5 separate regions of the Homo sapiens genome follow, and regions 1, 2, 4 and 5 are each linked to region 3. Evidence: promoter capture Hi-C in 16 types of primary human blood cells and fetal thymus (Javierre and others, 2016). All regions are on one chromosome and are shown on one strand. Each heading gives the region's core, a stretch centred on a gene start or on the middle of the fragment in contact. The rest is flanking DNA. Distances are from core to core; before and after follow the strand shown. Region 1 holds the start of SLC30A7 (solute carrier family 30 member 7). Region 2 holds the start of DBT (dihydrolipoamide branched chain transacylase E2). Region 3 holds the start of DPYD (dihydropyrimidine dehydrogenase). Region 4 holds the start of RWDD3 (RWD domain containing 3). Region 5 holds the start of SASS6 (SAS-6 centriolar assembly protein).

Evidence for each region. Contacts are between HindIII fragments. The CHiCAGO score rates a contact against its expected background, and 5 or more counts as called.
Region 1: a contact is called between the fragment with the promoter of SLC30A7 here and the fragment with the promoter of DPYD in region 3, in 4 of 17 cell types (non-activated CD4 T cells, naive CD4 T cells, fetal thymus and 1 more). The highest score is 7.3, in non-activated CD4 T cells.
Region 2: a contact is called between the fragment with the promoter of DBT here and the fragment with the promoter of DPYD in region 3, in 1 of 17 cell types (neutrophils). The highest score is 6.4, in neutrophils.
Region 4: the fragment with the promoter of RWDD3 here is called in contact with the fragment with the promoter of DPYD in region 3 in 7 of 17 cell types (total B cells, total CD8 T cells, activated CD4 T cells and 4 more); the score reaches 7.1 in total B cells.
Region 5: a contact is called between the fragment with the promoter of SASS6 here and the fragment with the promoter of DPYD in region 3, in 1 of 17 cell types (total CD8 T cells). The highest score is 5.0, in total CD8 T cells.

The regions. Positions count from the first base shown.
Region 1 is chr1:100,894,134-100,900,126 of GRCh38, reverse strand. It overlaps SLC30A7 (solute carrier family 30 member 7), which reads right to left and starts at 4,037. Exons shown (of 11, transcript NM_133496.5): 1 at 3,785-4,037; 2 at 3,456-3,557. The coding sequence starts at 3,864. EXTL2 (exostosin like glycosyltransferase 2) reads left to right here and starts at 5,285. Exons shown (of 5, transcript NM_001033025.3): 1 at 5,285-5,494. RefSeq lists enhancers at 3,533-3,692, 3,743-3,992, 4,543-4,612, 4,507-5,229, 5,230-5,953. The HindIII fragment of the contact is 2,158 bases long and covers 2,628-4,785 here.
Region 2 is chr1:100,246,298-100,252,072 of GRCh38, reverse strand. DBT (dihydrolipoamide branched chain transacylase E2) reads left to right here and starts at 2,239. Exons shown (of 11, transcript NM_001918.5): 1 at 2,239-2,303. The coding sequence starts at 2,253. RefSeq lists a silencer at 2,020-2,119 and enhancers at 2,230-2,349, 1,951-2,510, 2,511-3,070. The HindIII fragment of the contact is 8,889 bases long and covers 1-4,260 here.
Region 3 is chr1:97,918,517-97,924,372 of GRCh38, reverse strand. DPYD (dihydropyrimidine dehydrogenase) reads left to right here and starts at 3,339. Exons shown (of 23, transcript NM_000110.4): 1 at 3,339-3,489. The coding sequence starts at 3,451. RefSeq lists a silencer at 3,134-3,533. The HindIII fragment of the contact is 4,374 bases long and covers 440-4,813 here.
Region 4 is chr1:95,230,499-95,236,320 of GRCh38, reverse strand. RWDD3 (RWD domain containing 3) reads right to left here and starts at 2,111. Exons shown (of 4, transcript NM_015485.5): 1 at 2,006-2,111. The coding sequence starts at 2,090. It overlaps TLCD4-RWDD3 (TLCD4-RWDD3 readthrough), which reads right to left. Exons shown (of 8, transcript NM_001199691.1): 7 at 5,327-5,419. It overlaps RWDD3-DT (RWDD3 divergent transcript), which reads left to right and starts at 2,339. Exons shown (of 4, transcript NR_125949.1): 1 at 2,339-2,621. RefSeq lists silencers at 1,651-1,830, 2,041-2,370. The HindIII fragment of the contact is 4,366 bases long and covers 1-3,116 here.
Region 5 is chr1:100,131,586-100,137,121 of GRCh38, reverse strand. SASS6 (SAS-6 centriolar assembly protein) reads left to right here and starts at 4,192. Exons shown (of 17, transcript NM_194292.3): 1 at 4,192-4,372. The coding sequence starts at 4,308. It overlaps TRMT13 (tRNA methyltransferase 13), which reads right to left and starts at 3,959. Exons shown (of 11, transcript NM_019083.3): 1 at 3,807-3,959; 2 at 194-240; 3 at 37-103. The coding sequence starts at 3,953. RefSeq lists silencers at 1,975-2,269, 4,407-4,570 and enhancers at 3,745-4,274, 4,285-4,404, 3,809-4,411. The HindIII fragment of the contact is 1,832 bases long and covers 4,013-5,536 here.

The DNA.
Region 1 (5,993 bases), core at 2,788-5,287, 3.0 Mb before region 3:
ACTTGGACAATAGGTGCTGTAGGCTCTGCTGCTCACTTGGGAAGTAAAAAACTCTAGGCCTCAATTTTCCAACTATAGAAGATGACAGGTTAGTTTGTCTCTCTCTCTCTCTCTCTCAAGTCCCACTTCCAAAACCTACACTATCCACATATTCTCTTTCTTCCTTAGTAAAAAATCCTTGACTTTCCGCAGAATACATGGCTGAGTGGAATAAAGACTACATTTGCAACTAGGCATGACCATGTGATAAAATTTTAGTGAAAGCATTGTGTGTTAGCATCCAGGTAAATCTTAAAAAAAAAAAAAATGTGCACACCTTTTACCTCTTTTTATCTGCATTCCAGACATTATGCTGCCAGGGATGACTGAAACACTAGCACCCATCTTGGAAATGAAGTTTTATCTTGTGTAAGCAACCATTATTTTAGGTTTTTGTTTTGTTTTGAAACAGAGTATTACTCTGTTGCCCAGGCTGTGGGGCGGTGGCTCAATCTCGGCTCACTGCAACCTCTGCCTCCCAGGTTCAAGGGATGCTGGTGTCTCAGCCTCCATGTAGCTGAGATTACAGGTGTGCAGAGTTTTTCTGTAACTTGAAAACAAACTTAACCGTAGATGATACAAAACCACATTGTTACACTATGTTACCTTGAGATTAGTCAGTTACTCAACAATAAATTAGTAAATGAAAAATAAAATACTAGAAGGAAGGGAAAAATCACATAGAATTTCTACCATTTTCCTCCCAATTTCTAAGAGTGAGAGAATGGAATTTAATGTTTTGTCATTGCTGTTTTTCCTTAACGGGGTAGTTACCATTTTTAGTATAGGTAGTGTAATTCCATACATTAATTATTCCCTCATTCTTTCATTTAGCAAATATGTATTAAGCATCCACTATGTGCTATGTACTGAAGTGCCTGCATAAGATAGAAAAGATCCCTACATTAATACAGTTTACGTTCTAGTGGGAAGGTGAAAGGTAGCAGATATTTATTGAGGGGAAAAACACACAACAACTACCTATTGTTCCACTGAAGAGACCTACTCATCATCTAAAATATAAATCAACTATAATTAAGTTCTTCCTTTAAAATGAAGGCTCTGAAAAAGAACCAGAACAATTTAACATTTGTTAAAATTAGATCAACTGCTTCTATGAACCTTTATTTGTGAAGTGAGTGTTTTATTCACGTTTCAGTCCTCTATAGGAAAAAAATTCTTGGTTATTTCATGTTCTCAACAAGTTGAAATTTATTTTTACAGAATGAAATTCAACAAGGAATTGACTAATACACAAAATGAGTTTTGGAAGAAATTTAATCAAGGAACTGAAAAGCTAATATAACCTACAGGAACACAGATAATCTTCTGGTCATATAAAGAAATTATTGATCAGTCAACAAAAGGAACTAAAAATTTTGGTGTCTAAATAAAACACAGAAAGCCAGATTATTAAAAGGCCAGAGAAATGCCTAAATCTGCCCAAATATCAATGACAAGAGATCTGTATTAAAAATTAATATTTAAGAATAATTGGTTGTAGATCTGGAGATTAACATAAATAGGCATGAGATGACGGATACGTGCTAAATGAACTAAGTACAACATGCACTGGAGCTAGATTTCAAATCTAGCTAGAAGACATAACACAATGAAAAACAGTATATAAGCTGCACTAGTAAAGAAAAGCAAGTCCCCTAAGGGTAAAAGAACAAGTCGACTACAACTAATGTTTTTGTTATGCACTGATGCATACTGACTTAAAAAATAATGGTTCTGGTAATCTCCCCAACAGATCTCTACAGATCAAAAGAGTTACTATATACTTAACTTTCCATGAAAGGTGGTTTAGGAACTTCAAGTGTGAATCTCTTGAATGAGATATTTCACAGAGTGACTTATGTAATGGAAAGCCATAGTGAAACACTGCAATAGAAACTATCTGTAGCAAAATATGCATATATAAGCTATGATACACTCTTGATACAAAATATGCATATACAAGCTATGATACACTCTTGATACAAAATATGCATATATAAGCTATGATACACTCCTGATACAATCAGCACATATCCCAAAATTAATTTGGCATAATTTAGGAAGAGAAAAATGTAAAATATACTGTAAATATTATATATTTATGATAAAGTATGATTATTCAAGTACAAGTGCTTTCAACATCTACAGTATATTAAAGTGTGTTAATACTATGGGATTAAAAAATTAATCTATGATGGGGTATCCTTCAAATTAACACATCTGATTCCCAAAGGATTCAAAATGGTTATTACATATATTAAGATTTCATTGTGCCAATATGCCTTTATACCCAACTGTTGACTAAACCAATAACCTTCATAATCTGCTGGTTATTGAGTATTTTTTATAGAACTGAATTGACGGTTGAATTGAAAGAAGCCCAAGCATTATATAAAAGTATACATGTCACAAAACCTGGTGATATTACCTGTCAATGTTTGATCTCAACAGAAGATCAAGGACAGCGATTTTCTCTGAAAATGGGTCTTAAACAACAGAGACTAAGTCTATTTAATAAATAGAAAACAGGTTCTTAATCTAGAGTCCAAGATTTAGTACAGGGAACCCAACAACATCCTGAAGCTTTATGTACAATTCTGAGTATTGGCTTTCATCAGATTTTTGAAGGAGTATGGGATCTAAAGACAGAATTAGTACACCTAGGAGTGTGACAGTCTTGTTAGCAGAACAACTTCATAAGACCTTAAGTTACTCAACAGCAAATACCTGAATAATAGTAACTTCACTGCCACAGAGTTACACACTAGATTTTCCTCCTCCTAAGGATGTTTCAAAAAAAACAAAAACCCTCAAAGGTGCCACCAAAACCCAAGAAATGTTGTTTCTAGAAACTATATGGGATTTTTACATCGCAGTTAAGACTACAGGAAAATCATGAGACAGTTTCGGCATTAAAGAGAGAAGAGAATGACACATATTCCTCCCGATATCACTTTATAAAACCTCCCATTCCAAGCCCCAATAACAAACTAAGTAGAACATCTCAGATATACTCTCTCAGAATCTTAAGGGTGAAATCCAAATGCCACTCCCCCCCGAGAGAGGCAGCAAACAAGTTTCTCCCAATTCCAACAAAGTGGGTAAACCTAAGGCCTACAATTAGAAATGAAAGATTCTGCCCATCTGCTAAAATAAGGAGGGGCTTGTCAGTCTTGTCTGATGGAACTGGAGGGGAGCGTGACAAGAGAGGTTGCACAGGATAGGCCCAGATCTTACTCAAGAACTGTAGCCCTACCAGATTGGTGTGGGTATGAGAAAGCAACTCAGCAGCAGAGGTAGGTAACAAAGGTAGGACCTGAACCTCCTAGTGAGGAGCTACGTGGCATTAAGCAAACAGTGCTTCGTCTCCCTCACACCCAGCTTCCGCCCAAACCATTTTCCCCTTTGGTTACCAGTTGCTCCAGATGCCGTAGAGTAGTTCCACAAAAGCGAAAGAGAGGTTCAGGCACAGGAAGAAAAACAGGTTCCGGGAAGTCTTGTCGGACAGTATAGACCTGGGAATGATACACGTGGAAAAGAGCCGGGAGAGTTAAGGAGGTGCCGGGACCCCGAGGCTGGGTACCCTCTTCAAGACCCTCCCAGTTCACATGCTCCTTTCTTCACAGCTAGGGGTTGACGGGGAGTTTTTGACTCTCCCTCACTGGACCTCGGGCCATCCTGAGGTCTGGGCCTTCTCCCTTTCTGCCGGACACCCCCTCCCCGCAAACACAGCACCCCGCACCTAAACCAGCCCGAGATCTTGCCGAACAAATTGAACTTGGGTGGTTTGTATTCATCGTCTTTGATGGACAGGGGCAACATCTTCTCTGCCCGGCGAAGGGCCGGGTCTACTCCCCTCTAGAAGTGGCTCCGTGGGGTGATGGCAGTGACAGTAGTGACGCCTCAAACGGGAATCCCCAGCGCTTGTCCGGGGCCGCGCGCCGCTGCGAGACACAGACAGACACAGACACACACCCGGGAATTCGCTTACTTCCGGCCCGGGCCGCGCAACGCGTCCTGGGACAGGAAAGGAGGGAGGCCGGTCGCGGGCGGGGCCTGCGCGGCGGAGGGCGTGGCTTGCGGCGGGGGCGGGATGAGAAAGGTGCTGGAGCTGTTGGAGGGACGCCAGGAGGTGGCAACTACCAGGGGGTGTGAGGGGCTGACCTGGGATGGAATCCTGCCACCCGGACTCAGGAAGAAAATCCTGAGGTGGCGACCTGCAGACTGGGCTGGGAGATGGAGAGCCCGCTCACGCCCACCCGACCGCCTACCACCAGTGTTCCCGGATGCATGGGCTCCAGCGCCTGCCCTTTCGCCATTTCCTCCCAACTGGCATTAAATCCTGGTGTGGTAGATATCAGTGATTAAGAGTCTAGGCAGCCACGTGTTCTATTGCCGCCAGTCCGCAGGAAACGCAAGTGATCGTTTTGCTGCGTTAACTCTATGGGCGCCCAAATCTTAGGAATCCATTCCACGCCACCCCGAAAACAGCGCTTGACCCTTCTGGACTGCCACGCAGGAGGCGATCAATGTTTTTCTTTCTTTATTTTTTTAAGAGACAAGGTCTCGCCCTGTCACCTAGGCTGGAGCACAATGAGGCTCACTACAGCCTGGAACTCCCGGACGCAAGTGATCCTCCTCAGCCTCCGGAGTAGCTGAGACCTCAGGCGTGCGCCACCATGCCTGGCATCAATCAATGTCTTTCAAAATAAAGGCTGTTAAACGTAGTATAGGAAAGAAGCTTTTTAATGGTAGGTTCTACCAGACGTGTTTGTTTGATTTTTAGGTTTGGTTAATGCATTGTTTCCCGTACAATCTCAACCCGCGGAAACCCCGAAACTCTAGAATTCGTGCCGGTCTCTTTCGCTTCCAGGTCATCCCCGGGGCAACGGCCGCCGCTCTAATTCTTGTCAGAACCTCCAGGCCAGTTTCAGCAACGTGCAGGCAGAAGCTGGCCCCTCGGTGGGATGCGAGGGCGTGTGGAGCGCGGGGAGGAGAGCCCCACAGGCCTTTCCTGGGCACCCGCGGTGGATGGGAAGGCTCCTTCGGGCGCCTTTCAGGGAAGTTGTTTGGCTGAGGGAAGGTGGTCCGTCACGTGAATGTTTAAAAGTTGTTACCTTGGAGAAGAAATGGAGGAAAGGATTGGCTTTCGGAGGTGGGCTGGAAACTACAAAACCGAGCTTCCTGGGAATGCCTTTTAGGCCGACAGGAAGTGGAGCGTCACCGAAAGGGAGGGGCGGCCACTCGGGGACTGTCCCTTGCTCCAGGCGCTCACTTTGCGGGCGGCACTTTTTCCAGGTTGTTAATCCAGCTAATGGAGAAGGATAGATGCACGCTACTTGGTTTAGAAAAAAAAACAAAAATGAGCAAACGAGACGCCCCTTCCGTTTTATGATAACTAAGCTGCAGGGAAATAAATCGGCTGGCCCTACTGCAATCTACTGCACTCGAGGTAAGGAGACACAGCAAAATGCTCCAGTATTAGTATTTTTCTTTTTGTAGTGAGGATATATGCATGTTTTGCTCTCGTTCTGAGAACTTTGTGTGTGTGTATGGAGTATTCGGTGGTTTTATTTTTGAAAATATGTACTTATTCTACAATTTTGAAAAATGTTAATTAAAACTGCTGTGTAAAAACAGCTAGGTTTCAGAAGTAAGTTCTGGGAAGAGTATTTTGTATTTGCCTTTGTTAGCGTATATTTCATTCTTTTAATTTAAGTGTAGAAATATTTAAAATTAGTAGCATTTACTCTTTTTTTGGAAGGAAGTTTTTGTATTAGCAGTAGACCTTGAATTTTACTCTACTGCACTGCTGAGGAAAAATTAATTGGGTGCAAACTAGATAGTTTAAAGATAAATAATTCTATGGTAATTGGATTTTTCTCCAAAACGCCCTTATTCAATATGATTTAACTTGGGAGAAGGCGGGAGAAGTAATAGAAATAATTAAA
Region 2 (5,775 bases), core at 990-3,489, 2.3 Mb before region 3:
CAACAGAAAATTTTCATCACCACAAAAAAAATCTCTCTTGCCTCTGCAATCACTGCCCCTTCCACCTCTAGCCCCAGGCGAATTTGTTTTCTAATGCTAACCTTATTAATTAATAATACTAATATAATCTTATTATATAACTAATATAACTAAAACTAATCTGTTTTTCATCTCTATAAATCAACATTTTCTGGACATTTAATTTAAATGGAATAATGTAATATGTGATCTTTTGTGCTTGTATTCTTTTACTTAGCATAATATTTTTTTGACATTCATCCATGTCATAGCAATTATCGCTAATTCAGTCATTTTTAAGGATGAATAATATTTCAGAATATGGATGTACCACATTTTGTTTATTCACCTGTTAATGGACATCTGGGCTGTTTCTAGATTTTGGCTGTTATGCTGTTATGATTATTCCTATTCAAGTCTTTGTGTGAACACTGTTGTCATTTCTCTTATGTAGCTATCCAGGAGTGGAATTGGTGGGTCATAACTGGCCATTTTTAAATCTAAAAAAAGAGAAGAAATGGGGTCTTTGTTTCTTTCAAACTCGAATAAAAGAATTAACTAGGGAATAGATGGTGTATTTCTTTCCAGATGCTGGAATGAAAGATAAGGACACATATTATACTGAATATAGAAGCAAGAATCCATTGACATAAGAAGACGGTAAAGGAAAATAAACTAGTTATCTTCTGAGGAGCAGGTACAGTTAAAAACGAAATTAGGACAAAGAAAGTTGTATAGCAGCAGCTTGGAAGGGAGATGATTCACTTCAAAGGTACAACTGCCACTGCTTTTTATACAAACACATGCTTGTGGGATTATCAAATATATTAATAATGTCTATAAACATTTTTAAGGAAATGTAAAAACTTGAAATTCTTTTGACTACTCTAGATTTTCTGAGAAAGATAGCTATTTAGGCCGGACCCAGTGGCTCATGCCTGTAATCCTAGGACTTTGGGAGGCTGAAATGGGAAGATCGCAGTTTGAGACCAGGACTTTGAGACCAGCCTGGGCAACATAGAGAGATCCCATCTTGAACTTCTGAGCTCAAGCCATTTGCCTGCCTCAGCCTCCCAAAGTGCTGGAATTATGGGCAGGAGCCACCACGCCTGGCCCAAGAGACCCTATCTCTACCAAACAAACAAACAAACAAAAAAGATAATAAGATTTATTGTTTGCATTGATTTTTTGTGTGTAGATGTGTAATACATAAAATGGCAAATGAGGGGGAAAAGTGTTTGGGTCATATTAAACAATGAAGTTGTGAAATACCTGAGATTTTGTTTCATAACCACTAATCTTCAATGTTGAGCATTTAAAATGTATTTGTTCCAGTTTTTTTTCTCTGTAATTCCTTAGACATCTGTGCAGATTTTCATTCCCACGTAAGAAGCAATAACAGACTAATGTCATCCTGGACATTTCCAGGAATTGGTTTCCTAGTTGCTCTGAGGAAGATTGCCTTTTAAAAGAAAGCTCTGATCTGTTCTTTACCAGTTCCACTTGACCTGAATTTGACATTTCTTTAAGAGACAACTAAATCAAGATCATGTGTCTGTGACATGTATTGCATATGCTAGTTAGCTGCATCTGATAGCAGTCTGTAAAAAGAAAGATGATAACATGTTTATTTTAGACATTAGGTAATGTTCATCTTTCATGAAAAAAATTGATTAGCCAATTTTGGTAATCAAAAACATAAATGGGAGTAAAAAAGGCAGTCATTGGGAAGTACTGCTGTATGGACTTGTGAAACAACTAGTTGTCCAGAGCCTTGCTACAACGTATAGAAATATTCTATTTTCTGTATTTGGGGCGGCTACACTACAAGATGAAGACGGGGAAATGTTTTCCAACTCATCGCTCAGGTCCTACTGCAACATAACTTTCTTGAGGTAAGTACCTTTCTTTGTGTTTCCTTAACACTCTCTATTTTCCCCATCACATACACTAAAAAGATTATCTTTGGTGCATCTGTATTTACACAGCAGTGTTAAATTTGGGCTGCCCTCTGCCCCGCCTCCGTCCCCCAGGCTCTTTTCACTCCCCGCTGGGTCCCAGATCCTAGGGTTTAGCTCAGGCTCCGCCCTACTCCTTGGTTGGCTGTTGGGTGGGAGGCTCGTTTCTTCCCTCCCTATTGGTCGCCCAGGGGGAGGCGCGTTTCCCATCTCCTGATAGGCCGCGCCGAGGAGAGTCTCTCCAGTTTGCGGCACTGTTGTCATTTCCGGGGTAAGATGGCTGCAGTCCGTATGCTGAGAACCTGGAGCAGGAATGCGGGGAAGCTGGTAAGCACGTTTGGGCAGATCTGAGGCCGGGAAGGAGTGATTTGTCCGGAGTCATCCAGGAGTGGTGTTTTACTTTCTCCTCCGGTGCCAGGCGTCCAGGGCACGCGTGATGGAGAGGTGAAGGGATGCATGCAAAATAAAGGGCAGAGAACGGAGCGAGTCGACCAGTCTGGAGTGGAAACCCACTCCCTCCCCTTACCTGGAAGCGCTTCTGCAGCGACTCAGCCGTCCTGCTCCATCTGTACCCCGAGGCCCAGCTAGCGTTTTATTGAGCGCCTTCCAGGTGCCCAGGCATTGTGATAGGCGCTGTGGATCCAGAGATATATTCGTTTAGCATTTATTGCGTACCCACAGTATGCCAAACACTGGTAACACGACCCCTACCCTCAAGGAATCTACAGTGTGTAGAGGAAGAGGCCGTTCAAGTTATAGAATATCAGCAGGGGTCCCTGCTTCCGAAGAACTGAGCAGCTCGGCGTCACTCTTTTGCCTTGTACTTCTATGTCCGCACCACATATCATTCCTACCCTTTTGTCACCAAGGCTGTGACCCATCACCATCTCCCCTGCACTTCCTTCTCTTTCTCCCAGTCTTAGCACCAAGCACTGACACATACCGGTAATGATACTTGTTACCCCTATTTGCTTAGTGTTTCTTCTTCCTGCCTCTTCTCCCTTTCCCTAGATGCTCCTGCCTTGGTGACCCCGATCTTACAAAAACTTTCAAGAGCCTGCTATGTACCAGTGCTGTGTTAGGCACTGGAGATACAAATATGAAATAGACATCATATCTTCCTTCTCAAGAGATTACAACCTTGTGGTGGAGGACAAAGGAGAGGGAGACAGATAGAAATTACAACCCAGCATGAGAGGTACTGTGATGGGACAAGTGCCTAGAACTACAGGAACACACAGGAGTGGACACCTATGGTGGACTTGGGGGTCAGAGGAGTTCCCAGAGGATACTGTATGACTTGAGATGTAAGAAGGATAAGTAAGAGATAACCAGGAGAAGAGAGCTCTTCTCAGCAACACTTAACACATATTGGTCTCTCTTCTTTCTAGAGCTTTCCATTCTTGTTTTCTGTGACACCAGTTTCCCAATATTATTCTTTCTTCATCTTTGGCCACTTCATCCCAATATCCTGTTTCCCTTCCCGCCTTTTAAATATTGCTTTTTCTAAAGGGCTCTGACTTTGGCCCTCTGCACTTTTCCCACTTTCTGGGTTATCCCATCCACTCTTTGGCTTTAGTTACCATCTATGCTGATGAGTCCTAAAGTTCCCCAGTCTTCCAACCAGGTCTACTCCAAACCCATATATCCTACTGTCCTGGAAATCTCCAGTTTCATATGTACGTGATGTTTTCCAGCTGCAATTAAAAACCCAACCAATAAATAGGAAATTAAGTATCCATGCATACAGAGCATCCCCAATTAGATGTCAGCTCACATTAAGTGGCTTATGATTATCAATGTCGTCATTTCCCTAGTAGTTCATTTGTCCTTTTCCTACTGTATACAAGAGGGCTGCTACGACTTCTTCTTTTATGTTGAAGGCAGGAAGGTGGAAGAGGAGGAGGTTCCAGTCTCACTGGCCAGAACTGTGTTACATGGCCCCGGCTAGCACAAGGGAGCTTAGAAAAACTTGTCTTTTTTTTTTTTTTTTTTGAAATGGAGTCTCTCTCTGTCACCCAGGCTGGAGTACAGTGGTGCGATCTTGGCTCACTGCAACCCCTGCCTCCCAGTTTCAAGCGATTCTTTTGCCTCAGCCTCCCAAATATCTGGGACTACAGGCACACGCCACCATGCCCAGCTAATTTTTGTATTTTTAGTAGAGACGAGGTTTCACCATGATGGCCAGGCTGGTCTCAAACTCCTGACCTCAAGTGATCCGCCTGCCTTGGCCTCCCAAAGTGCTGGGATTACAGGATGAGCCACCATGCCCAGCAGAAAAGCTTGTCTTTAGTCTTCTCACAGTGTCTGCCGTAAAGCTTCAAAGCAGGTCAGACTCTCCAGCCTCTAGAACTGAACCCTCAAACCAGTTTCTCTTAATTTTTTTTTTTTTTTTTTTTGAGAAGAGTCTTGATCTGTTGCCCAGGCTGGAGTGCAGTGGTGCAATCTCGGCTTACTGCAACCTCCACCTCCTGGGTTCAAGTGATTTTCCTGCCTCAGCCTCCCAAGTAGCTGGCACTACAGGCGCGAACCACCATGCCTGGCTAATTTTTGTATTTTTAGTAGAGACGGGGTTTTGCCATGTTGGCCAGGCTGGTCTTGAATTCCTGACCTCAGGTGATCCTCCTGCCTTGGCCTCCCAAAGTGCTGGGATTACAGGCGTAAGCCACTGCCCCTGGCCCAGTTTCTCTTGATTTGAGCCTGTAATTCTCTCTGAAGAAATCTAGTCATGATTTTTCCACCCTGCCCTCAACTGGAGGTGTCTTGGCCCTTCTTAACTGGATTATATGCCTCCAGTGGTCTTGTAGTTTTTCCAACCCATTCTCCATAGTGTAGCCAGAGTGATCTTATAAAGTAAGAGACATTTGATAATATCATTTTCTTGTTTAAAACTGCCTTCAGCAAAATGTCCAAAATTCAAATGACTATGAGGCAATTTATGATCTGGACCTTTCCAGTCTCTTAGATCTCATTCCTTACCAAAACCTACCCATCCCAACCCCAACTCTGACACTTCCCCACCCTTATTCCACACTAAACTACACTAGAAGTCTGTTGAACAACTTGAGTTATTTGCACACACACTGTGCTTTCTGTCTCAACTCCAGACCTTTGCACATGTATTTCCTCTGCTTTAAAGACTCTTGCCTTACTCCACTGTGGCCTTATCTGCAACATACCTCATCCCCGGGGTTACACCTACTCATCCGTCAGGTCTTACTTCAACATAACTTTCTCCAGCTAGGTTCCCTTAACACACTCTATTTCCTTCATTATAGCACGTGTTATAATCACCGGTTTACTTGTCTTTACCTTTCACTGTACTGTGCATTCTATAAGGGAAGAAATTGCATCTGTTTTGTTCTCTGTATAATCCCAAGTGCCTGGCACATTGTAGGTGTGCATAAATATTTTTTAAATGACTCAGTAAAAAAAAAAGTCAGGTTTGTAAACTCTTCTAAAAAGTTGTAAGCAAAAACAGTTCTTACCCCCGTAGTAAATTATTAAAATAGCCTTATAATGTTGTGTTTTACATTTCCCTAGGACATAATGCATTTGACTCTTGATTAATCATGCCATTTGGAATTTTTCTGTTGTGTCTGTCTTCCTGTAGTAAAGTGTAAGCAATTTGAATTCAGGAACTATATATTGCATCTTATTTAGCTTTGCATTTCCAAGTCCAGTACAATGTCTGACTTTAGGAGTGCTCAACAGCTGCCTATTGAATTATTATTAAATATTTCCTTAATACGCTACTTTGGTGAACAGTTTCATTTCCCTTTATGTTCTTCTGTCCTGG
Region 3 (5,856 bases), core at 2,090-4,589:
TTTGGCCCTTGAAAATCAGACAGCGGAAAAAATGCACCTCATGATCATTCAGCCTCTGACTTTTTGGGAGGAAATCATTTTCAAAGAAATGTCCCCCACCAAAAAAAATCTCTTAATGCTACACTGCAAAGGGAAAATAAAGGCATATGGAAATCTGAATTTTTGTTGTGTTTCTAAATTTGTAATATTGAATAACTTTTTAGATGTGAAATTAAAGATGACTCATAAGTCCTACTTCTGACTTTGGTAGTAATAATATTCATTTATGTACTGTAAACTATTAGGTTCAAACATAAGCTGTTTCTCCAAAGCCTACAAAAAATTAATGTGGAACACCTGATATTTCACTGTGCTTCCAGATGGAGGGACAGCTTGACAAACGCCATCATAATTTACAACTTTTAAAAAGTGTGGTGCAAATGCATTTGCAGTAAAAGCTTTAAACAGCTTGCATTATTTACAGGTACAACTGTGCTTAATGTGCAATTTCAATGAATTTAAAATATTATTAGATTAAATCACTGATCACAGAGCATAGGTGTGGCACGTGAGCAATGTGATTAGATGCCTTAATTAATATGTCAGAACAGGATACATCTGTTTGATGAAGTTGGGGGGGATGGTAAATAGCATTTAAATTTTATATTTGATTATTGACTATCACCGATGAAACTCTTATCTTTGGAAAACCACCGTATATTGGACTTATCCTCTATAGTTGTTTAGGAGAATTATAACAGAAAACGAATATGAAAATACACTGTATAACTCTTAAAGATAACTTGGATTCTTGTACACATAAATTAACTATCAATTGCTAACTGATAAGATGTATGTTAAAGTGTAACCTGAAAGAGCAATAAGCCTGTATCCCTGTAAGTTAGGAAATTGAACATTGAACCTGACTGATTAAATTGGGGAAGAAATCATATGTATTATAATTATATATATTATATTTGTAAATTTATATATGTTTATATGTGTATATCTTTTCTCAATATATACATATGTGTGTATATGTATGTATGTATTTGGGTGTTTATATGTGTATTTATATATATAGACTGATAGAAAAATAGATATAGATAGATTTATCTATCTCTCTATATCTCCAAGAGGATCTAGAGTAAGTGGGTAAGGTGTGGTTGTAGGGAGATGCAGGAACATCTGACTTTGGAACATTACTCCATGAAAAGATAAGTAGTTATTTTGACCCATTTTAACTACAAATTCATTGATAGATATTGTGACCTATTTCTCAGCAGTAAGTAGGACAATGAGAATATGTGATGCAGAGAAACTAAAGTTTCTAAAATGAACTGCCCAGTGTATAAACGAATGTACTCTGTTCATTCAATCACCAAGTGTTCTTGGTCTCTTATGCTTCAGTCCTGAGCTAGGAACTGAGTATCCAGTAAACAATAAAAGTACACATGGGCCCCCTCTTCCTGGAGCTTCCTCTCTAAATAGAAGACATATATTAAATGAATCACATTCAAATAAATATTTAAACAACATTTGAAAAGTCTATGAAGACGAAATATAATGAAAAAGACAGAGTGGGTGTAATTTTGTTGGTGATGGGGTTAGATCATAAAGGCTTCAGTGAGACCTAAATGATGAGTAGAAGGGGAAGAAGAGCTCCAAGTGGAGGGCAATGTGCAAAGGTAGAGAAGTGGATGGAGGATGAGAAGATTACCTTGTGGTTGGAACATAATGAGTCAGGGCAAGAGTGGCGGAGAAGCGGAGTAGAGCAGGTTATTCAGCGGTTACTAGGGAGTTTGTATTATATTCTGACTGCAATGGACCATTGAAGGATTTATACCATGGGTACCTGGGTGTGTGGATGTATCGTTGTATGGCATGAGCCAGTTAATACTTTCTAAAGCTCAATCTGGTATGGATATGAGGTAAGAATAGAAGCTAGAATACCAGTAGCTTGGACCATGGTGGATGCAGCAAAATGGAGAAATGAATGATTCAAAATCTATTTAGGAGGTTGACTTCTGAGAGTTTGGGCATAGATTAAATGAGGCAATAAGGATAAAGGAGTCAAAGATGATTCTAAGGTTTCCATTTAACTTTCTAGTGTCTGTTAATATTTGATTCAAGAAAAATGTATCTGTCTTTTAGTAATTTCCAGGTTCTGGAAGGTAATCTGATGGTTTGTTCAGAGAAGCCTTCTCAACCACGCAAGGTACCCATACCCTAGTTATTCTGTCCTATTTTTCTTTTATCTTACAAGCAGGCATCACATTTTCTTACTTGCTTATTTTGAGTATAATCTCCATGACAGTGATGTGTATTCTTGAAGACTATATCCGGAGAACCTAGCACAGTGTCTGTGTCTGGCATATTGAAAATGCTCAATAAACATATTCGTTGAATAAAACGATGAATGGACTAATGAAAAAATAATAAGGGAGAAATACTTGACTCCAAGGTGTCACTACCTAGCCAAGTGCATGAAGGAGTGCCGCAAATGTCCTAACGGAAGTAGAAAGTGTTATGGTAGAAGAGAGGTGGGATGCATCTAACAGGGGTGGGGGGGGGGCGGGGAGAAAAGGAGAGAGGTCTGGAGTACACATATCCTCAAAAAACGAGGTGAATGTTTTCTGGATTGGGACCAACTCTACAGGAAATCTCTCCCTTCTCCTCAGCAAGCTCTAGAGCAAAAACGAAGAGCAACTTTTCAAAAGAGTTTCACGTTTTAGAATAAAAAATATTTAAAAAAATAACCATTAAAATGAGACTTTCCTGCAAAAAGACAACCTTGATTATGTACCACCTGCAGCACTTCCTGTATGCTGCTGCGGGCTGTGGATGTTTTTGCTCGCCTCCCTCCCCTCCCCGCTGGGGCTGTGAACTCTCAGAAGACCGGTGCTTTGGTATCCTCCACTGCAGCTCAAACCCCGCCCACCTACTTGGTGGATGGATGGAGGAACATCTACTATTTCATCCTTGAGGAGTTCCTGAAAATGCAGTTGCCCCTCAAACAATGTATCTACATCTCGCGGGGTTTCTGTGGAAGAAAAGAAAAAGTGCAAGTTGTTGCTTGGAGCGCGGACTGCTTTTACCTTTGCCTGGGGATCCCTCCTATCTGGCCCCGCCTGCCTAGCTCTGTTTTTAGCAGTTTAGAGATTAAAGGCCAGTCCCCAGAGCGGGTGCTCTACTCCCTCCCTCCCTTCTGCTTGCAGGCTGGGGCGCGGAGCGGGCTGAACTGGGAAGGCCGGGCTGCGGCTGCCGTGCCTGGCGCGGGAGCCGCAGGACCGAGAGCGCAGCCCCGCCCCGGGGGCGTTGCCGCCCCGCGCCCGCTCCGCCCCCGCGCCGCCGGCCCTAGTCTGCCTGTTTTCGACTCGCGCTCCGGCTGCTGTCACTTGGCTCTCTGGCTGGAGCTTGAGGACGCAAGGAGGGTTTGTCACTGGCAGACTCGAGACTGTAGGCACTGCCATGGCCCCTGTGCTCAGTAAGGACTCGGCGGACATCGAGGTACGGACTTCGCGCCGGCTCGTCGGTGGTGGCGGGGTGGTGGGGAGTGCTCTGCGGGTAGGTGCCGGGGAGGCCCCCGCGGCCCCCGCACCCCGGAGAGTGAGAGACGCGGGAAAGTTTCCCCCGTGGGAGCTCTGCGGGGGAGCGGAGGAGCGCGGAGCCACAGGCCCGCGTGGGCAGGCGGGGAGCTCAGGGGAGGACTTTCCGCTACTGGAGGGGTTGCCCTTTGCGTCGGGACCTGTTTACTTCGGAAGAGATTTCAGGAAGCCTGTCTTGTCCTCCTCTGAATGTCAGTGACTGAAGAAGCACTGGAGTTCCAGAGAGGTGGACTCTAGGGGGTAGGAGTGCCCATTTCCCACACGTTCTACCCCTTCACCTCCTGTATGTCGTTTCTGGACACCTCCACTGCCCCCATTTCCAATAGCTGAATCCTGCTATTTGCAAAGGTGAAGCATAGAAATAAAACATCTGTGTGTCAGCTGTAGCAGTCGCCTCTAGTCATAGTATTGTTTATGAAATAATTTAACATGGAGAGAATGGAACGAAGTATTCAGAACATGAAAAATGCAGTGCCCTCAGAAAAACTAACTGTATTTTTCTCTCCTCTCAACGGTTTTTGATTCCCTCTTGCACTCCGTTTCTGTTAAAAAAAATCTTTTTTTATGTAAATAAGGTCCTACCTGAAACGACATGGCATTTCCTTTCTCTCTAGTATCTTAATATATGCGATGAAAAGGATTTAATTATCAACAGTGATTTTACACATACTAAACCTAGGTCAGCACTTTTGAGCTAAGACAAACTGATTTTTAGTTTTCTGTTTTGTTTGGGGCTTTTCTTTATTTGAGTCTTCTACTCTGGTAGAAAATTATGTGTGTGTGTGTTTTCTTTAGAAATAACAAAATTTTCCTTTCGTCAGTCCTTTTGGCGGCTTAAGTAAAAGTTTTGCAAACCACCTGTTTGCAAAATAGCTGCTTTTGCCACATTTTGCCTCCGTAATTGAAGAAACTTTATATTCTGGGAGGAAGTAGTCCTGTTTTCTCCAGGCTCCATAACTTGGTTTGAAAAATCATTTTAGTAACAAGAGCCAAAGTGTATTATGTGGACATCTCTGGTTAGTTTACTTTTGGTTTCTGTTTTGGAGAGTTGACTTTTTGATATTGAGCAATATGATATATTTAACAAATAGTTGTTCATCTGTGTGCAGGATAATAGATACTTGTCTTTTTCTATATTTCATTTAGGGTAGTCTATTCCTTTTTGGTCCTTGTGACTTTGACTTAACTTTTTAAAAAATTTTATTTACTAAGTCGAAAAACAAGCTTCTGACAGTATTAAGGCAGTATTGATTTAAGATATCGGAGTTGACTTAGGATGGGTGGCTTTTGGCTCTTTAATTTCAGAATGGTGTGTTATCTGCTTAACTGATTTCTTTCTCTGCAGTTGTCTTCGAAATCAGTTCTTACATTCTACTGAGGAGAAAGATGCCAGTGAAACATTGAATGCCAAGCTTGATTTCATATATTGTTTCAACTAAGAACATTTAAGAAGCCCATCCTTCCCACTCCCTCCACTCAATTCAACCTTAGTCTATATGGCCAGTTTGCCTAATATTACTTTTAATCTAGATTGCTGGTGTTCAAACACCTTCAGCTCTTATGTAGTTCATATGTGCAACACTTTAATCAGTAACATCTTTCATCACTCACAGCACCTTACTTTTCCCTCAAAGTAATACCCGTGATTCATGAGCTAGAATACCATGAAAGAGCATGAAATTAATCATTAAAATATAATGCAGTGAGGAAAAATACATTAAGCTTAGGGGAGCACATTCAAGCATAAATGCCTCAGTTGATCCTATTGATTTACCAAAGTTCATTTTTGTGTTGAAGAATTAGAATGAATTATAAAGGCTCAGTTTTCCATCAAATTTGAATGCTTTTCTTGAACAAATTCATTACAACCATTGTCTAGAGATCTGATTGTGATCATTGTTTTAGCTTCAAATACATGGATAAGCAAGTAATATTTTAAAAATATTGGTATGAAGCAGTTAATGAATGTGATAAGAACACATTGATAAATGTGAAAAGTACTTGACAATTGTTAAAAGAACAGAAGGTGATGATAACAACCTACTCTAATAGTGACTGACTTTTCCCTATGAGCTAACTACAGAACCTCAGGTTTCAGTGAAACAGCCAAGAAATATCTTTGTTTCTGGGGGAAAAGTTATTGAGGTATATATAAAGGTGCTTTGTGTGCCTGCTTCATAATTTCTAGTCTGAATCCAATATCACATCAGGATTTGACGGTTAGGAACATGGAAAACAATCAGATCACCAAACTCCATAGCTGGAATAT
Region 4 (5,822 bases), core at 862-3,361, 2.7 Mb after region 3:
TTCACTCTTGTTACCCAGGCTGCAGTGCAATGAATGGTGAGATCTTGGCTCACTGCAACCTCCGCCTCCCGGGTTCAAGTGATTCTCCTGCCTCAGCCTCCCGAGTAGCAAGGATCACAGGCGTGTGCCACCATGCCCAGCTAATTTTTGTATTTTTAGTAGAGATGGGGTTTCGCCATGTTGGCCAGGCTGGTCTTGAACTCCTGACCTCAGGTGATCTGCCCGCCTCGGCCTCCCAAAGTGCTGGGATTACAGGCATGAGCCACGCGCCAGGCCTAGACTACCTTCTTAAAGGTTAACCAATTTATGGTCAGAAAGCCAATTTTAATGGTAGCTACAATATAACATTAGAACGATAAATCTCATGCCCCAAACATGTACATAATGTATCTGAAAGCTAAGTGAAAACTGAGTCACTTTCTCATACATGGCAGTGTTTTTTCTTTTTTTTTTATTCAATAGAAGCCACATACAGGGACAGTAAGTTTCACCTATCATCAAAAAATAGTCAAAAGAACCTCTCTACACTGTAAGCTCCTAGAGGCCATGGGTAGCGGTGTCTCTGAAACCCTGACAAAGTCTGTAGGCAGCAGGGATTCAATAAATGTGGGCTAAATGACTAATAAAGCCCTCAAGAGCTTGTTTAAAAAAAAGTATCAGAAGGCCAGGCACCTGTGGCTCACGCCTGTAATCCCAGCACCTTGGGAGGCCGAGACGCGCGGATCACGAGGTCAGGAGATTGAGACCAGCCTGGCCAACATGGTGAAACCCCGTCTCTACTAAAAATACAAAAAATTAGCCAGTCATGGTGGCAGGCGCCTGTAGTGCCAGCTACTCGGGAGGCTGAGGCAGGAGAATGGTGTGAACCCAGGAGGTGGAGCTTGCAGTGAGCCGAGATCGCGCCACTGCACTCCAGCCTGGGGGACAGAACAAGACTCTGTCTCAAAAAAAAAAAAAAAAAAAAAAAAAGGCCGGGCGCAGTGGCTCACGCCTGTAATCCCAGCACTTTCGGAGGCCGAGGCGGGCGGACCACGAGGTCCGGAGATCGAGACCATCCTGGCTAACACGGTGAAACCCTGTCTCTACTAAAAAAAAAAATACAAAAAATTAGCCGGGCGTGGTGGTGGGCGCCTGTAGTCCCAGCTACTCGGGAGGCTGAGGCAGGAGAATGGCGTGAACCCGGGAGGCGGAGGTTGCAGTGACCCGAGATCGCGCCACTGCACTCCAGCCTAGGCGACAAAGCAAGACTCCGTCTTAAAAAATAAAAAATAAATAAAATAAAATAAATAAAATTCAGCCAGGCATGGTGGCACGCGCCTGTGATCCCAGCTACTCGGGAGGCGGAGGCTGCAGTGAGTCCAGATGGATCCACTGCACTCCAGCCAGGGCAACAAGAGAGACTCCACCTAAAAAAAAAAAAGTATCAGAAAAGCAATCAACTTGGAAATAGAATGCAGATAAAGTTGAGGTTGAGCACTGGATAAATGAAAAAGTTCAGTCAACAAACATTTACCTACTACCTACCAGGTGCCTGGAGTCATTACCAAACAGACCCTGCCCTCCTGCAACTTAAGACCTACAAATACCCGTGTAGAGTTAGAACCGGGGAGTGCTCTCGGGGGGGCCTAGGGCATAGTGCTTAGGAAGGACACAGAACAACGAGGGGGCGTCAGCACAGGCTTCTTTATAGGGTGAGATCTGAGGGGTGGGAGGCTGGGGGAGGGCCTGGGGGTGCGCACGCAGGGGCCCCCGGCTCCGGGAGCGGGACCGGCGGCAGAGGCCCCAGTGGGCCGCGCCGCTCTCTTAGTGTTTCTGGGGTCGCCTCACACTCCCGCCCGCTGCGACACCACTCCGGCCTCCGGGCGTGTCATTCCATCATTCAACTAACCCGGTCCCCATACGTGGGCCCAGGCGGGGTGCCCAGGCTCCGTGGTGGGGAGGAGACGCAAAGCGAACGCGGGTGGCCCCTGAGGGCGCCCTGTCCCTCCCGCGCGCGGGTAGTCACCTGAGCGGCTCAGCACCTCCCACTCGTGGGGCCTGCAGAAAATCGCGGCCAGGACCGAGAGCTCCTCCTGCACAGGCTCCGCCATGGCTGTGGGCCCCACCGCCTCAGCGCTTCCCCTTCCGCTGCCGCAGCCGCCGCCTCCACCGGCCAGGAGCAGCACTGCCCGCGGCCACCCGGGGGCGCCCCGCGCCTCCGCAACCGGGCGGGACGGGGGCGGGGCGAGACGGAGCTGGGGCGAAGCGAAACGGGACGTGGGCGAGGCGAGTCCGGGCGAGGGTCAGGGCAGACGGGGCGGGCGGGGCCCTTAGAAGTTCCGCCCAGAAGCTCCTGCTCAGTAACTACAGACGCGAAGCTCAGCCTCTCGGTTTGGGAATTTTCTTGGAGGCCGAGGCCCTGCGCCTCTGTCTGCACCCAAGGCGACCGCCCAGCTTACCCCCGGCTCTTCTGAGCACAGGGAGGCCTCCCAGCAAAGCCTGAACCCTCTAAGTTTAGCTGCAGGCTTCGAACCCCGACCGTCCCCGCCGAGCCTTGGGCTGCTGAGGTGGGGATGAACTGGGCGAAAGACACTTGGGAGTTAGGAAGAAACAAACAAGCAGGGAAGTGACCAGGAGACAAGGTGAGACTTTGCCCGGCTCAGGTCTGAACTGAGTGTTGGAGATAACCACAGTTAACAAAATAAACAAAATTATTCGCCCCCGTGGAGCTGTTAGCAACCCTGGTGCCTGGGAAGCCTGGAAGAGGCTCGGGTTAGTAACAACCTCCAGGATGCCCTCCGAACTGGTACTGGCGCCGGGACTCTAGACAAGGTCCAGATTCCCGGGCCCTTCCCCTTACGGGTGCAAAAAGGGAGGGTCAGGACCTGCCAGTCCTGGCTTCAGGATGTTGACTGGACGGACCTGGACTCATGGGAACTGTGCGCCAAAGTCCTGGGAGCAAAGTGTCATAACGCTCCTCGTTTGTCTCTTGCCTTCACAGGAGACAGCCCTGCTGCAAGCGGCCAGTGGGAATCCTTGGCCTTTGGGGGTATGATCCAAGAATGTAAACGCTAGCTTTTCAGTGTTTTCGATTTCGTGATATTCAATGCATACAATACAATGTGACTCTTGAAGCTTAATAATAAAATTATCATTCTTGAGCCCAGCACCTAAATTTTAAAATGTGAGCAATACCAATAGGGTAACAGAATAAGCAATCCATTCTGTTTTGACTATAGTGAACAAGATTACAAGACTTATCTGCAGTTAGGTCTGTCTCTCGGATGTTTGCCTGGTCTTTTTGCTGTTCAAATAACAGTTTAAAATTTGGCAGTCCCCACAAGCAGCTGGTCTTGCTCATGGAGTTCTCACAACTTTTGTTTGTATGAGAAATCACATTTCATGAGATAAATCTGGGAATTTAGGTTGTTAGGCAGTGACTCCAGTCACTGACCTACGGAAGTCAGAACAAAGTTGGCTGATTTTAAAACCCTGCATCCATTCACCATTACCATTCCCGCTGTTGGTAAAAAAGGAATCTGATAAAGGAAAAGATACTGGCTTCCCGGAACAGAAAGGAAACCTAACAAGATGGACTGCAGGGAAAATGCTTTTCAGAAGATGCCATGGGATTTCAGTGACCCCGAGTAATTAGGAGCACATAATTGGGAAGATGAAGGCTTATTTAAATGCAGTTATCTCTGATATGGCCAATTGGCTTGAAGAAAAAAAAAACTCCTTTATTTCCAAAATAACAGACGTTCCAGCAGTTCAGTAGGTTCATAATTAACTGCTAAAGAGATTGAACAAAAGAATACGTTTTTAATTTAAAATATTACTAAGTTATTTTAATTCGAAATCCAGTGTTACTATGAAAAGTCAAACAATTTGGTTTTTGACTTATTTATTGAAAATAATCTATAAAATAGGCTGGGCGCAGTGGCTCATGCCTGTAAGCCCAGCACTTTGGGAGGCCGAGGCGGGTGGATCACCTGAGGTCAGGAGTTCGGGACCAGCCTGACCAACATGGTGAAATGCTGTCTCTACTAAAAATACAAAATTTAGCTGGGCGTGGTGGCAAGCACCTATCATCCCAGCTACTCAGGAGGCTGAGGCAGGAGAATCGCTTGAACCCGGGAGGCGGAGGTTGCAGTGAGCCGAGATCGCACCTTTGCACCACTCCAGCCTAGGCAACCAAGCGAGACTCCGTCTCAAGAGCAAAAAAAAATCTATAAAATATTCAAATAGTTTTTACTTATTTTTAATTTTCCAAATTCACTATAAGTGAGATGAGTGAAATAACATGAAGAGCAAAATTACAGCTGTAGGAAGGATTAGGAGGCAGTTGCTAAAGCCTGCTGTCAGCAATAGGTCCATGAAAATTGATTAAAGAGTACATCAATCTATGATTTAAAATTTTCTTGTCAATAGGTTTCTTCTTTGCTCTTCCTTTCTCAGTTGATTTCTTAATCTGCTTTTCATACCTCATTTAGCATGTTTAAATAAAAAAGAAGTCAATGTGAATGTCTTTTAAATTGACACTATCCTAAGGCACTGAAGTCCCATGAATAAGTTTCTGCACTCTGACATTTGGAAATAATCATCTCAGAGACTGCATAATGTCAGCTTGATATTTCTTGCACTGTGAAAATATCAGCTACATGTCAAATCTCTAAAGTCTACCTTAATGTAATAAGTTTCCTCGTATTCACAGGCTACTGAAAATTCAAAATATTTAAATGTAGGATGAATGTCTACAGTTAGAGCATTGTCTACCTCCATCTCTCTCTCTCCCTTCTCACCCTTACACACACAAAGGTGTATGATTTGCTAGAACAATTATTATTTTTACAAGTATTATTTTTACAAGCAAATTTTCTAAATAGTTGCTTCCCCAAGACCATAAGGGGAAAAGGTTTAAAACCTTTCACCTTCAGTTAAAACCAATAACCCAGAAGATAGTTCTTTTCATTTTGGGGGGAAACAGTTCTACTCACTTTCTCATGAGTAGTATGTAGACTTACTCAACTCTGAGTTTGAAATCTTAAGTCAAAACTCACGTGAGCATAGAAATGAGAATGCACAATTTCAAGTGTATTAGGAGAGTTAAGTGTTATGTCAAAAAAAGGTGAGGATCCTAATACTGGAGTGGAGTGTGATAAGAAAAAATATCAAATCAAAACTGAGAAAGGTAAAAGTACTTTCATGAACCACCAAAACAACCAAAAGAGGGCTTAAATGCCAACTTCCTAAATAAATCTGAACTCCAAGAACCTGTGCTACTGGTTCTGTCTAAAGAGTTTCTGCATTCGCATACTCATTTCACAAAATGTTCTTAGACACTCACTGATTGTTGGCCGGGCTCTGCAGGCTGAGTGTGGAGAGGTGGAGAGTTAGAGATGAAAACAAGTCCATGTTTCCAGTGACTACAGCCTTTGGTCTAGACAAGTAAACACAATATGAAACAATTACAAATTCTTTCACCAAGCTGAGCATACAAGAATTATCACATTTCCTTAGCGGTGTAAAGTTCAATATTATGATGTAGGTTAAAGTAACAGAGTAGGAGTAGCATATACCTCCCACAATTTCCGAGGGGAGAAATAATTTGGAAATGCTCAGGAACACAGTAGCCCTCCAAAAGTACACAAAGTCTGGGATGTTAACTAGTCATAGTTGTTTTGTTTTGTTACAGTATACAGATCGTAAATTTATTTTTCATAATGATAAAAGCAAATAAAATCTATGAGAATTTGCCACTGGCTCTGTGATCATACCCTTGTGTGGAAAGATCTGCCTCCATCATGTCCAAGTAATCTGCACTCCCTCCAAAATATCGGCTG
Region 5 (5,536 bases), core at 2,943-5,442, 2.2 Mb before region 3:
CATTTCACCATTCAATTTTACTGATCAAACACTTACAGGTTTTGGTTTCTCTCTTGAGTTACATTTTTTCAAATGCTTTGCTAGTTGATCTTCATATACTGTGCTAAATTTAAAGAGAAAATTATTTCAAATGAGACTTGTGCCAATTACTGTTTCCAGCACAAAAAAAAACCCGTATCTGATCCACACTTACTGTTTTGGATCTAAAGGACACAGGATTCTTTTCCGAGCATCTTCTTCCTAATAAATTAAGAGATACATTTATTTAAATAAAATATCAAGTTTATTGCTTACAGATACCAGATATAACTTCAGTGTCTCTGTAATCTCAAAACAAGGTAAGGAAACCTTACAAGGACATAATGAAAAGTTGGCAAAATCAGGTCCCAAGGGTTTAACAAAAACTCTCCAGTGTACTGGCTTAAATACATATGAACAAATACTGCTTTGGACAAACAAGGGTCTATAGCTTCAAACAGGGTATAGAGAAGGCCTACATATGGTGTCTGAAATCTAAGATAGCATCAACTATTATATGTATGACTATTTTATGCACAACCAAGAAAGAAAAAAATGCTGCCTATTTCATGTTAATTGACAAATAGTTGTATATATTTATCACATATTAGGTTTGTACAAAAGTAATTGTGATTTTTATGGCAATAAAAATAATATACACTATTATTTATGTATGGTTTTAATACAACATAATGTTTTCAAATATGTATACATTGTGGAATGGCTAAATCAAGCTAATTAACATGTATTGCCTCACATACTAATCATTTTTTGGAAAATGCTGCCCATTGACATATGGATTTTAAGATGTATCCTGATTTTAGAATGTTAAAATGTAAAAATAAAGTTTCTTAGAAACAATGGAACATGGCATTTTAACCATTTGGATGTGCCATATTTTACTGGCTTTGCAACTTTTTACTATCAGTTACATCCTACTCATTCCTAAGTTACATCACTTAATGACTGGGAATACATTCTGAGAAATATATCTTTAGGTGATTTTGTCATTGGGAGAACATCATACAGTATAGTAACACAAACCTAGATAGTATAGCCTACTGTACATCTAGCCTATATAGTATAGCCTATTGCTACTAGGCTGTAAACCTGTACAGCATGTTACCATACTAAATACTGTAGGCAATTGTAACACAATGTAAGTATTTGTGTATCTAAACATATCTAAACATAGAAAAGGTACAGTAAAAATACAGTATTATAACCTTATGGGACCACCATCATATATGCGGTCTGTTGTTGACTGAAATGTCATTATGTGGCACATGACTATATGAACTGGGAAAAAAGAAAGGAAAATTGATAATGTTGGCAATTCTACCCAATATTCCACATGAATCTGTATAAATAGGGGTCATATAACAGTTAAGAACACAGGCCAGCCAGACTGCCTAGGTATGATACCCAGCTCTACCTACCAGCTACGATCCCTATGACCTTAGTTAGGTAGGCTTACTGCCTCATCTGAAAGATGAGAACAAAAATATGTCTTACCTTCTAAGGTTTGAACACATTAAGTGAGCTAATAGTTAACAAAACAAAACTGCCTAGCCCAGTGCTGTACATAGAGTAAGTGGTGACTAAGTGTCTGCTATTATTATTCTTTTAAAAATTTATTTCTGTTCGAATGTGCCTCTCAGCATGTCCATGAAGCTATTCACACTGAATTTCATGGGAAAGCTAAGAAATTTTTTTTTTGAAAATACTATATATTCAATAGAAGAAAAAGAAAATACTGTATATAATTTCTTCCTTATTGCTGACTTTAAATCCTAACCTCCATGTAAAAGACTATTCTAACCCCCAGAGCCTAACTGTAGCATAGGAAAAAAAAAGCACATTTAAAATTTATTAGTTGAATTTAGAAACAGGAATTCTCAATCTTGGCACTATTGACGTTTTGGGCAGGTAATTCTTTTGAGGGGGTGAGTGCAGGGGGCTGTCCTGTGATTTGTAGGAGGTTTAGCAGCATTTCTGGTCTCTATCCATTAGATGTCAGTGATACTCCTCAGTTTGACAACCAAAATGTCTTCATTTTGCCAAGTGTTCACTGGAGGCAAAATCAGTCCCAGTCGAGAACCACTGGGTAAAAATGAGTGGTGTCATCACAGCTATATATGACACTTAGAAAAAAAGATGGAAACACAACATCCAGTTACATCATAAATTACAGATTCAGGAGGATAGCCACAATTTAAAACGAGATAGTAGTCAATAAAAGTGTTTCCACTTGATGTTTTGCGGTCTCTCTTCAAGTGTCTAATGACAATATGTCGTTCCTCTATAGGAATACTAATCAGCTTGTAAGGATTTATTCATATTCTACTATCATCACTATTTGTTTTCACCTTCCATATATCTGGATAAGGTGGAGTCTAAATCCTTCTCCTATCATAACTCTCATTCTTCAACAAGGGATGTTTGCCAGTCCCCTCAAAACCAGTCAATAGACTATGGGCATAATTCAGAGTTCCCACAACAAATCACGTCTCCCATATTCCAAAACAAGAATGTCCTTGTTTCAGTATGCTTCACTTTTGGTAAATGCCAGTCAAAACAAAATAGGAAGTAGACTACAACTATGATGGAGAGTGGCAGATGAAGGGGGTCAGGGGACTGATCTGCACTGGATATTGTCTAGAAGAATAAATTCCTTAAGAAATAAAATAATGCAAATAATACTGAACATTCAGAAGCATGAAATCTGATGCTGATCGCTTTGGTTTATTCTTTATAGTTCTGTGGAACTATAAGGACATGCTCTCTTCCTATGAGCATTTTGCTCCTCTGGTTTTTATTTTCCCATCTCATATATATCCTAAAGTAATATACATATATACAAATATAAAGTGTTTGATAGTACATTTATATGCATAATTATCAAACAAAATTGTATGCTTTGTTCTCAATTGTAAAAGGTCAATTCGTATATATTTAAAAATCTTTCCTTCCCATTCCAGCAAAGTTGCATTCTTAAAAACTGTAAGTCGAAAAAAATTTTTTTTTCTTTTTTGAGATTCAGTCTGGCTGTCACCCAGGCTGGAATGCAGTGGTGTGATCTTGGATTATTGCCACCTCCACCTCCTGGGTTCAAGCGATTCTCCTGCCTCAGCCTCCCGAGTAGCTGGGGTTACAGGCTCGCACCACCACGATTTTCTTAATTTTAGTAGCTCGCGCCACGGCTGATTTTCTTATTTTTAGTAGAGAGAGGGTTTCATCATGTTGGCCAGGCTGGTCTCGAGCTCCTGACCTCAAGTGATCCGCCCGCCTCGGCCTCCCAAAGTGCTGGGATTACAGGCGTGAGCCACCGCGCCGGGCCTCAAGTCTAAATTTTTAAAAGAAAGTTTCTTCCAACCGCATTCACGAGAAGTGCTTCTCTTTCATGAAATAACAATTAGAACACAACTAGTGAAACCTTTGGGACTTCAATCACTACTTTTTCTAAACTACCACTTTCCAGCAGGAAGACGGAGCGGTAGCTTGGGGTAAAAATTAAAACCTAGCATTACCATGAGTTAAGATCGAGATAAATAGATCAAAATAAATGGGTCACTGCTGGCGCTTTACTTAGAAAAATAAAAAATTTCTCATCACTAGAACTCATAATCGCTCCGCAAGGAGGGCAAAACTGGGTTTATTAAAGTGAAAGCTGGAGAATCCAGGGGACACAAGCAGAAAGCTGTCAAAGAGGGGAGGGGCCGGGTTCCAGCACCGACAGGACCAGGATACTTATTTCCGACTCTTGAGAGAGTAGGGCGATACCACACCTCCGCGGCTCCAGCGTGTTCACCACAAAATCTTTTCCCTGCGGCCACCACCATCCTGCAGAACCGTTTCTTCTTTTCCACATAGTAACCGCATCTACCCTCAGCTGGAAAACCAGGCGCGTGCGGCGACGTCGCGGAGGTCGCCATAATTCTAGGGCTCGCTTCCGGTGTCCAGCATCCGGCAACCAGAAGAAAAGTTAGAAGCTTCCTTCGGGTCTCCTTCCCTTAACAAACATGGCTGCCTCAGCCCCCGCGCCACACAGGTTAATACCCGGAACTACCACAACCGTCTTCCCTTTATCCTCCGCAGAACCGGAAGAATCCGATGGTGGCTGGCGAGGGCCAAGTCTCTTACGCCTTCCCCTCGTTTCTCCCTCCCCGCCTCCTCCGCAGAAGCCGAGCGCCAAACTCAAACTTTATCAGGACCCGGACCTCTCAGGCTAATCCCGAGGGCCGGGCCTGTTGGGCTTTTCTGCACACCAGCCGAGGCAGCGAGCCAACATGAGCCAAGTGCTGTTCCACCAACTAGTCCCGTTGCAGGTGAAATGCAAAGACTGTGAGGAGAGGTAAGGTCCGCGTCATCCAGTGCCCGCGGGTGGCGGTTGGGGTCAGGCCAATGGGGAAAGATGGCGGTTCTGGCCCGTGGGATCCACCTTGCACCTAGGTGTCGAGTCGGCCCCCCTAGGAAGCGGATAGGGAACCCAGAGGGCCCGGTGGTTACCTCTCTCACCAAGTCGGCCGTTGCAGAGGGGACTGGAGGAAGGGTGTGAGGAGTTAGGAAGCCGGCTCACATCAAGTTAATGTCAAAAACCCTACCTGTGCACGGAATCGTGAAGATTATAGCCCTACTCTTCCCTTTTGACAGATAAGAACTCTGGCCCAGAGAAGTTAAAAAAATTTACGTGAGGGCTCACAGCCAGTTCATGGCAGGGTCAGGACTAGAACTCAGGCCTTGGCTCCGAGCCTTTCCCCCTCGTTCTCTTTTGAAGTATGTTGGCAGTAAAGTTCAACTTTTAAAAACCTACCAATTTGGTGGCGTACTTTGGCTCTTCACATCAGTTGCTTTAAAAAAGTAAATTACATTTAACCGACTAAAAATGAGAAAAGCAGAAACGTCATTAATTCATTCAATAAATATTGCCTCCTTGTAAAACACCTTACTGGGCACTGGGAATACAGTGGTCAGGAAAAACAGTCCTTTTCTTCATGGAGTTTACAATCACTGGAGGAAATAAAGACCAGTCGCACAGAGAAGTGCAACTTTGATTAAGGAGGTGGTATTATTGGGGCGTAAATAGATTTGACCAGAGGTCAGGAGACTTACTTTTTTTTTCTCAGTTCTAACACTCAATGGTTGTCTCTTTTTTTCTCTGAACGTTCTTTCCTCATTTGTAAAACTGATATAACATGCGTATTCACGTGTTTGTAATGAGGATCAGGTGTGAAATCTTTTGCGTATTCACGTGTTTGTAATGAGGATCAGGTGTGAAATCGTATGTGAAAACTAAGTGGTGTACAAATGTAACATAAAAAATGAAGACATTGCCTTATTGAGTTGCCAGTAATGTCAAACTGTAGTATATATAGTTCAGAATTCGGTCAAAAATCAATGGCAAGCCGGTCAAGGAGATGGTCCCAAAACCAGCAGCTGCATATGGAGATCTGTAGGTTTAGTTGATCATTCTTTTAATGCTGTCCAGTATGGTAGCCACTAGCCACATGTGGTTATT